3 separate regions of the Homo sapiens genome follow, and all the other regions are linked to region 1. Evidence: promoter capture Hi-C in human tissues and cell types (Jung and others, 2019). All regions are on one chromosome and are shown on one strand. Each heading gives the region's core, a stretch centred on a gene start or on the middle of the fragment in contact. The rest is flanking DNA. Distances are from core to core; before and after follow the strand shown. Region 1 holds the start of PSME2 (proteasome activator subunit 2). Region 2 holds the start of NGDN (neuroguidin). Region 3 has its middle 16 kb from the start of DHRS2.

Region 1 (3,143 bases), core at 3-2,502:
GTGCGGCGTCCAGCTGCAGGTAGCGGGCGGCTAGCGGCAGAGAGCTGGCTAGTAGCGGCCGGAGCTGCTCCAGGGAAAACGCCTGCCCGGAATCCCTCCTCAGGGCGCTCGCCAGCTCCTCGCGGGCCACCAGGAAGGCCCGCTCCTCTTCCTCCCCCGGCATCCTGAGGCAGGAGTCAGCCCCAGCCTCGCCGCCCGCCAGGACCCGGCGCGGGCAGCGCGCGGCCCGAGCGCCGCCCCTCCCGTCTGGTGCCCGGCTTTGAGGCCCACCCCGGCCCACGCAGCCGCCCCAGGTCACTCAGACCACGGTCACTCTCCAGCCCCCGGCCCAGCGCCAGGGTTAGCCGAGAACAGGAAGTACTAGGAGAGAGGGTGGGACTGCGACCCAATTTCGGAGGAACGGGCGGGGCTTAAGGTTAAGGTTGGAGCGGTGTCAGGAAACCAGGGGGCGCGGCCAAGAGGGAGGGCCAGGTCCCAACCAATGAGAAGGCAAATGGCTCCTGGCTCCTCCCTCAGAGCGCGCCAGCATCTTCCCTCAGTCAAGCGCTCTTCCCCGCCTTCCCCCAATCTGGTTCCACCCCTTCCGGATAGCCGCAGGCGCGGGGTTATCCTATTCAGCTCAAAACCTTTCTTTTTCTAGCTGGACCAGTCCGGTACGCTCCGGGCCTCACCGAGGAAGTCCCACCCTGCAGGGGAACCGACTCTGGCCGGCCCTAACCCCTCTCGAGCGAGTCCCGCCCCATCTCCGGTCTGTCCTGAAGGCAGAGGGAAGACCCTCACCCAACCCCTGCCCGCTCTCTTCTAAGAGCTGCTAGTCCTTCTCCACCCCAGGCGCTCCCTCTGGCTGCCCCTCCCACTCGCTCTGATCTCTCTCCGTCCGCTACTTGCGGTCGAGCCTTCTTGGGGGAGCCCCGCCACTGAATACCCCCTTTGCCATACTCCCACCTCTCTTACCCCAACCCTGGACTTCCAGTTGGCCCTAGCTATAAGCCCCGCCCCTCTCCGAGGGACAGCCCCCGCTCCAGTCTCCGCGGTCCCACTTACCCTAGCCCCTCCCTCGGGCAGCCCCTGGACTGTGACCCAGCCAGCACCGCCTCTCCTAGTGGCAACTGGCTGGGAATGGCTGAGGGGCTACCTACTGCTTGCGGCCTGCCAGCGGGAGGAGGGGGGCGGAAAGAAGAAAGGGGGCGGGGTTGAGGGGGGCGGGCCTGGACCTGGGGAGTGAAAGCGAAAGCCCGGGCGACTAGCCGGGAGACCAGAGATCTAGCGACTGAAGCAGCATGGCCAAGCCGTGTGGGGTGCGCCTGAGCGGGGAAGCCCGCAAACAGGTAATGGGGAATCGGAGGCCAGGAAGGGGTCATAGAACCCTCTTGGGTGGAGGCCAAGCTGGGTGGTTCAGGGGACCAAGCAGTGCCAGAGAACTCCCCCAATCTCGCTAGTGCCTTCACTTCTCGGGGATTCCCAGATTCCTGCCTTCTGACTGCAGTGAGCAGGAGCTTCCAGGGAAAGCTAGTTTGTGGTGAGAAAGGCCTGAGCCACAGTTCGAGGGCACCCTGTTGTGGGTGGAAGCTTTTGACAACCCAGACCCTTAACCAACATCCGGGTACTGCTCTCTGTGTAGGTGGAGGTCTTCAGACAGAATCTTTTCCAGGAGGTAAGTCTCTGGATTTGAGCGATTTGACCCAGAATCTTGGACCAATACTTGAGGATAACAGCCTCTCAGAATGACCCCCCCAAGTCACCCTAGACTTAACCCTACTTCCCTTACCAAGCCTTCACCCAAAGTAACCCCGGAATTATTGATAGCTACCTTTAATCTGACCTTTCTTATGACTCTCCCGACTTCTGGCACTTCTCCCGTCTTTTGATGTGGAGGAAAAAAACCATGGCTTCCAAAGCAGGAATATCACAGTCCTAACCTTCGTTCTGCCATTTACCAGCTTGGGCAAGTCCTTTCATTTTCAGGTCTTCAGTTTCCTCATTTGCAAGTCTTGGACCCAGTGATTTCCAAAGGCCCTTCCAGTTCCATTTGTCAGACATCTCATTGAGCATATTCTGTGATTCCCCTCCCTTGCAATGTAACCCACAGGCTGAGGAATTCCTCTACAGATTCTTGCCACAGAAAATCATATACCTGAATCAGCTCTTGCAAGTGAGTAGTGTGGGCCCCTTCTGCCCCATCCTATGTCCTCTATCCCCTTTGCCCACCCTCTCTAGCTAACAACTGGATTCAGCATGCAGAGAATAGTTTCAAATAGTGGATTAGGAACATTAGGATGGCGTGAGGCATGAGCCTAGGTTGGGAGGCAGAGTGCAAGTGGGATGTATGGAGGGAAGGCTGTGACCTAGGATGAAGGGAAGAGGTTGGGCAGCCCTTGACAGTGAGCTCTGTGCAGGAGGACTCCCTCAATGTGGCTGACTTGACTTCCCTCCGGGCCCCACTGGACATCCCCATCCCAGACCCTCCACCCAAGGATGATGAGGTGAGGCACTCAGGGTGCAGGACTTGGACTATAAACCCAATGGAGAAGATAGCCCTTCAACCTCTGTGACTTTTCTAAAGCTACTTTCCCCCCTTTTTGCCTTAGATGGAAACAGATAAGCAGGAGAAGAAAGAAGGTAAGAGAGATAAGAGGTGACTAGGGAAGGGGTGATGGCACACTGACTACTGGATGAGAAAGGGCCTGAATCCCCTCTTTCTCACAGTCCATAAGTGTGGATTTCTCCCTGGGAATGAGAAAGTCCTGTCCCTGCTTGCCCTGGTTAAGCCAGAAGTCTGGACTCTCAAAGAGAAATGCATTCTGGTAAGCCTGGGAAATGGGGGAAGCAGAAAGAGAAGACACACAAGGTGAGGCCCTGGACTCCTCCGTAGATACAAGTCCTTCATACAGAGACCTAGTCCTGAAAAAGAAAACTTCCTTCTGTGCCTTGGGCTTAGATCCCCTTTGTTCTCCTCGTTCTGTTAGACCTCTCTTATCACAACGGTACCCCCAAAATTAGAGACTGTGCAGTATCCACTCTGTAACCTCAGAACCTACTGCTGTATTGGGTTCATAGTAGAGGTGGTATGATATAGTGAGTGAATTGTTTTAAAAGATTGGACCCTAGAGAGAGACTGCTTAGGTTCAAATCGTGATTCTATC
Region 2 (3,143 bases), core at 478-2,977, 680 kb after region 1:
TCAGAGTGACTTTTCCAGTCTTATTTCCTACCCCCAACACACATAACACAGAAAGTACATCCTATCACAAAAATGACTTACTCCTTTCCCTTATCACCATACTTTCAGGCCTTTGTGCCTTTGCACATGTTCCTTCTTTCTGTCCCTCCCATTTATTCCTCAAAATCCTATCACCTCCTCTGGGAAGCCTGTCCTGAATCCCTCTGCTCTTCTGGCAGTTAATTAATCCCTCTCTTTGGCTGGAGACTCATAACTCTGTAATGTGACTGCTACTATTAATACTTACATCTATTGCTTTGCTTTGTCTTCCCTCTAGACTTCAGCACAGAAACTGGATCATATTTATGTTTGAAGCTCGAGCACTTAGGATATATAAGACACAATAAACATACAATGAAAGAACTACTGAGAACATTAAGTCAGGGGATGCTTACTGTTTGAGTACATCTTACCTTTTCTGTAGGATAGGCACCAGCTTGAACTTTTTGTGTCAGTGATTTCACTTGTGCAGTTACAGCCATCACCTGAAATTAGCCCAAATAAAACAAGTGATTAGATTATATCAAATTATGTCTGCAAACTGTGAAGAGCAAAAGCTAAACAATGCCACCTAAAAATTATCTGAAACACTGTCTAAAGTATAGTACTATCTTCTCACTTCTCGGAAAGCATAGGAGAGATGGTTCTTCAAAAAGTTTAAAAAAAAAAAAACTTTCCACTTCTTAAAGAAGAGACCATCTTTTACTGAACCACAGGGAGGAGAAAAGGACTGAGAGAGTAGTGACTGAAGCACTGTAATTTTGTTTGTACTAGTTGAACTTACAATGCATAGAACTACATAACTCCCCGACTTATGACTTAATTTCCACTTTACGAGGGTGTAAAAGAAATATGCATTCGGTAGAAACCGTCCTTTTCTCGTGATGCTGGGCAGCGGCATCAAGCCTAAATTTCGACTTATGAGGTTTTCGAATTACAATGGGTTTATCAGGCCATAACCTCCATCGTTAAGTCGAGAAGCATCTGTATATAAGTGTGTATTACCTGGGCACCCAAAGGGCAAGTCATGTTACCATTCCAAGCACTGGTTTCCTTAGCTATATGAATAAAGGAAAACTATTCATATAATTTCTTTTTGGAGTTTCTTGTATTCCCTTGGGTGCAGAATCAATTACTTAGAATTCTGGCGTGAAAAGGTTTTGATTACATCATTTTACTCTAAGGTTTTTGGAAGCATTCACGTATCTCAATCACCAAAGTTTTGAGGTGAAGTACACAAACTCAAAGCCAATCCGTGACTAATTTATTCCAGAGGCGACACTACTCACTTGCTCCTGGAGATTTTTCAGAAGTGTCACGGCACTTGGCAGGTCGGACTCCAGCACCCCCTACAGAAGGGAGAGGAGGCGTAAAGAAAAGTCATTCTTTCCTCAGGATTATAGGAAAGTGGAACGTCTAGGGTGGGAAACTGCCCTCTCTCCGTCAGACACCCAGACTCGGGGCCTTCACACTCGGGTTCACAGACTCGCCTTAAAGCCAGCCCCTTGGGTTACCGGACAGGAACGGTAACTCTAGGGAGGCCGCCTCCCTGAAGCAACTTTCATCACCACCCTTCCCTGGTACCAACAGTTTGCCTCCAGCCGCTGAAGGCAAAGGACAACTCCACAATAGCTACGCGAGGAAGAAACCACACCAAACTCACCAGCGCCGCCATCTTCGCAAAGCCCACCCCTTCCGGTGTCGTACTTCCTGAGCGCTAAGGGCGACTTGATAGATTTGATAGACAACTGCCGCTTGCAAATCTAAGCCAATACGAATAAGGGCTTTCTCACTTCCGCCCCCAACAGGATAAACGAGAGGAGGAGTCTGATCTGGCCAATGGAATAAAGGAACTGGCTAAATTCGTCAGACTCAGAAAGAGTCGTCAGGACGAAAAAAAGCACTTGGCAAAGAGCGTGTGATTGGTAGACTGAGTAAAATGATTGACGGCAAGCCAATAAGAGACAGTCAAATAATTGATTGACAGTTGGAAGGACCAATAGAAAAAAGGAATTAGCAGAGCGAACTTAGCGCGTATTGGCTCCCGTCTGCCGCAGCACCCAGAGTCTTTTTTCACGGCACTTTTCTTGTAGTGCGTGAACCGGCCGCTAGGTGATGGGCCTTGGCTTGGCTTTGCGGTGTCGACATTGCAGAGCCGCCATTGCTGGCTGCTCATCCAACGGCCACCGCGCCAAATGCCTTACAGACCCGGTGGCCCTGGAATCGATTCTGTAACACTACTCCTTGTGTGACCGTGGACAAGTCACTCGGTCTCTGAGCCTTCTTCATCTGTAAATAAGAGAGCGAGGCTAGAGAAGCCCAGAGCCAGAGTTTAGAAACCGAGTGCGAGGACACCTGCCCTCTTGGTGTGCACTGTGGAGCGCTGAGAAACGGCTCCAATAACGCCCCGACACTCTTCGCTCCTACCAGTTTGGGGACATGAAAAGAATACGTTTTACAAATTGGGGAACGGTTCATATTTACATGACTTACCGCGGTCACACAGGTCTTCAGCAGAACTTGGTTCAAACTCTGGCAGTGCATGTTTCAGTATAACCTGCCTCATCATTACCCAGTGCTTTCAGATGTGTTCTCTCACTCTGGTTTTTCACAAGCTGGTGAAGTAGGTTGGACGGATACTCATTGTTCCCATCCCATGCCTTAGGAAATAAAGCACCGAAAGGGTGAATGATAGTGTATAATTTTTTGTTCACAACTCGTCCAACAGAGCTGGGTCTAGAAATCAGATCTTACCGACTTGAAGCTGTCTTTTGGAATTAAGAATAACACCTGTATCTGGGCAGGTGAGGTAAGGAAATCCTGGTATCTAGATCTTGCTGGATTCAAGAAGGCAGGAGGGTGTTCAGTCCCCACTCCTCTAACATTTAATTTGCTGCTTCAGGCCCACTGTGGAAGCTCAGGATGCTGTTGCAGCATACTTAGTCAATTATCCAGTAGCTTTTGTAATGTTTTATCAAGATTTGTATTATGAAAAGTTTCTATTTCTACATAAATTTTCGGACCTGTCTAATTAGATCAGCAATAAACTTTTCCTTTTCGGGGAATTTGAAATTTAGTTTGTTCATATGCTTTATGATAGCAAT
Region 3 (3,143 bases), core at 223-2,722, 530 kb after region 1:
GGTTTTAGGCTTTAGCCCTGCTACTCTTGTAAGCTCCTTCTCTAGGAGAGCCATTACTGCCTCAGAGCTACTCAATGCAGACTCCAAGGTCCTTCCTACCCCCTCAACCCATCGGTCAGGGTGAACTGAGAGGTCAGCCTGGGGTAGCAGAGCCTCTGTGGCTGACAGGAATCATTCTGAGGGTTGGTTAGTAGGCAGGAGAGTGAAAAGACAGAAGGAAACTGTGTACAGGGGTTGAACACCTCCAGCTGAAGAAGGTGAGAGGTAGAGATCTCTTACCACTAGGGAATGTATCCGAGCCACATGGCACTAAAGTATGTTAGCAGCAGTGAGTCCGTACAGGTCTGCAGCAACCTCAATTCTTGCTTCCTCAGGAGAAAAAATTCAACTGAAGGACATAAGGCAGAGTGAGAGACCCAGGCAAGTGTTGAAGCAGGTGTGAAAAGTTATTAAAAAGCTTTAGAGCAGGAACGAAAGGAAGTAAAGTATGCTAGAAAGAGGGCCAAGCAAGCAACTTGAGAGATCGAGTGCCAGGTCTGACCTTGGACTTGAGTTCTTACATATTGGCATTCTGCATGTGCAATGGCCTGCCAGCACCTGACAGGGACTTCATGTGCAGTGTGTTTACTGGAGTTGTACGCATGCTCACTTTAAGCATTCTTCCCTTACCAGTCGAGTATTCCTAGAAGGTGGTCATATACCAGTTAAACTCAGCCATTTTACCTCTTGATGTGCATGCTTGAGCCCACTCACCCAACTCCTGAGATCTTATCTGGAAGCTGCTGATCACCAGCTTCAGGTGTTTCTATGTATTGGGAGATGGCCGTTCCCTGGCACCAGCTGTGGCCAATTATTATTTTAGAGAAACAGCATAACAACTGGTATTCCTGGTGTGTGGTGGGGAGCTCTCTCCTGCCCTGCTCATGTCTGCCTGACTACCTACTGCAACAAAGCTTCTAAGGAAATATATTGCAGATAAGAGAACATGGTTTGTGCTTAACAAGCCTTTAGGTAAATAACTATACATAAGGCATGGGAGCATAGCATGGGAAAGAAAGGGAGTGGAGGTTCACAGCACATTCTGAGATTGTTATTTCGAGATGAAAGGTAACATATATGCAGTTTGTCTCAAAGTTACCTCTTGAGACTGGGAGGAGGAAGAGGGAAAGGAAAAGAAGAAAAAAAAGTACAAAGCACAGTTTGAGGACCCATTCTTGCCAGTCTGGCTGTCTCCAGAGATGCTGTCACACAATGGAAACAGATGGACCCATGAGTCCACAGCCCCAAACTCAAGCAGGCTCCAGACCCCACTTCATGCTAGGCACCAAGTACTGCAAACACAAAAAAATAATGAAAACATAGTCCCTACCCTCAATAAGCTTACAGAAATAAATAAATAAAAATCAGCTTATAGTCTAATGGAGGAATCAGATAAATGCAACGCAGGGATACATGTCAAAATAGAAGTAGGTCTAAGGTTCAGACGGTTCCCCAGGAAAGCATCATTAAAGGCATGGAGATCACTATGGGATATTTCAGAGGAGGTATCCCTGCAATTGGAAATAGTTCCAGAGTTCAAGACTGAGTTAGCGATAAGGATAATTATTTGGGGATTATTGGTCATAGGTAGAAGCAGCCTCATCAAATGGAATAGAGCTCCCAGGAGCGTGAAGAAAGTGAAAAGAGAAGAGAGCCAGGATTGGAACTGTGGGAGCCAGCCTCTAGATGGCCACTATGATCCCTGCCCACTGGTACTCGCACCCACATAAGTTTCTCACACCACACCAGAGTTGCCAGAGGTAATGGTCCATCACTTCCAAGGTTAGGCTGTAAAAAACAGAGTGTTCTGTCTTGGGCTTGCTCTCTCTCTCCTCTCTCTCTCTCTCAGCACTCTGGCTGCCATATTGGGAGCATCCCTATTGCAAACCCATGTGGTAAAGACCTGAGTCCTCCAGCCAACAGCCAGCGAGGAACTGAGACCAGTGAGGAACTAAGGCCTATTTGCTCAATCATGTGAGTGAGCCTGGAAGCGAATCTCTTAGCCCCAGTCAAGTCTTGAGACAACTGCAGCCCTGCTGACAGCATAGCCACAACCTCTTGAGAGATCCTAAGCCAGAACTACCCAGCTACAGTGCTCTCAGGTTCCTGACTCTCAGAAAGTGTGAGATAACACATTTTCAAGCTGCTGAGTTTTAGGATAATTTGTTATGCAGCAATAGATAACTAATATGGGAACCTTGGTGAGAAGTAACCCATTGAAGAGATAGAGCAGAAAATTCTAAAATATGAGACATTTTAAAAATAAACCAACCATAATTAAAAGAGTATTGTATTGAGACATGAATAAACACATCAAAGGAAAAGAACGGACGGTCCAGAAATATACCTGAGCACACTTGGGAATTTAATGTATGATAAAGGTGGCATTTAAACCAGTGAGAAAAAAGATACATTTGTCAATAAATGATGTTGAAACAACCAGGTAGCTCTCTGGGAGAAAATAAATGAGATTAGATCTGTGCCTTTCACACACTACACCAAAATAAATGTCAGATGAATCCGATTTGAATATTTTTTAAAAACCATAAACCTACAATAATTCTTTTTCTTCCACATGAGAAAAAAACTACATAAAGTCAAAAGAAAAGGACAATTTACACAAAGTTCTAGGATAGACAAAACTCAGCTATAGTGATAGAAATCACATCAGTGATGTGATTTGGGGCACAAGGAAGTTTTCTAGGGTGATGCAAATGTTCTATATCTTGATTGGGCAGTACATCTCAATAGAGTTGATTTTTATAAGAAAGAAAACTGAGTGCAAACACCAGCAGGTCTGATGTTTTAAAAAAGCAAAATCTCTCCATAAGAATTGAGAGCCCTGGATCCTGACCTGCCCCAACCGCTTACTTCTCCAGTGGTGACCTTTCTCAGCCTCCCCTAAGCCTAGATATTCAAGGCTGACTTCCTACAGCATGAGGGACTGTCTTCACAGAGTTGAGGTCTGTGCATGATACAGTATTACTTTGCTTTAGTCTTTGTACCAGATTCAAGCAATTCTCCAATCTTTGTCTCCGGGAGGAGTCAGTTGACCGGTTGAGTAGTTGGTTCGTTGGCTGGTTGGTAGACTGGTTGGTTGGTTG

What was found. Contacts are between HindIII fragments. The study calls those that stand out against the background at their distance.
Region 2: the fragment with the promoter of NGDN here is called in contact with the fragment with the promoter of PSME2 in region 1 in 1 of the 25 tissues and cell types used here (dorsolateral prefrontal cortex).
Region 3: a fragment that was not itself captured here is called in contact with the fragment with the promoter of PSME2 in region 1 in 1 of the 25 tissues and cell types used here (dorsolateral prefrontal cortex).

The regions. Positions count from the first base shown.
Region 1 is chr14:24,144,719-24,147,861 of GRCh38, reverse strand. PSME2 (proteasome activator subunit 2) reads left to right here and starts at 1,252. Exons shown (of 11, transcript NM_002818.3): 1 at 1,252-1,328; 2 at 1,622-1,654; 3 at 2,090-2,152; 4 at 2,397-2,483; 5 at 2,589-2,619; 6 at 2,707-2,804. The coding sequence starts at 1,281. RNF31 (ring finger protein 31) reads right to left here and starts at 364. Exons shown (of 21, transcript NM_017999.5): 1 at 1-364. The coding sequence starts at 163. RefSeq lists silencers at 97-326, 357-446, 1,147-1,206 and enhancers at 288-582, 129-629, 767-836. The HindIII fragment of the contact is 10,846 bases long and covers 1-2,609 here.
Region 2 is chr14:23,468,287-23,471,429 of GRCh38, reverse strand. It overlaps NGDN (neuroguidin), which reads right to left and starts at 1,727. Exons shown (of 11, transcript NM_001042635.2): 1 at 1,703-1,727; 2 at 1,329-1,388; 3 at 453-524. The coding sequence starts at 1,714. RefSeq lists an enhancer at 1,024-1,964 and a silencer at 2,051-2,100. The HindIII fragment of the contact is 24,550 bases long and covers 1-3,143 here.
Region 3 is chr14:23,619,253-23,622,395 of GRCh38, reverse strand. No RefSeq gene overlaps it. Among named protein-coding and RNA genes, the nearest start is that of DHRS2, 16 kb to the left of the region's middle. The HindIII fragment of the contact is 4,229 bases long and covers 1-3,143 here.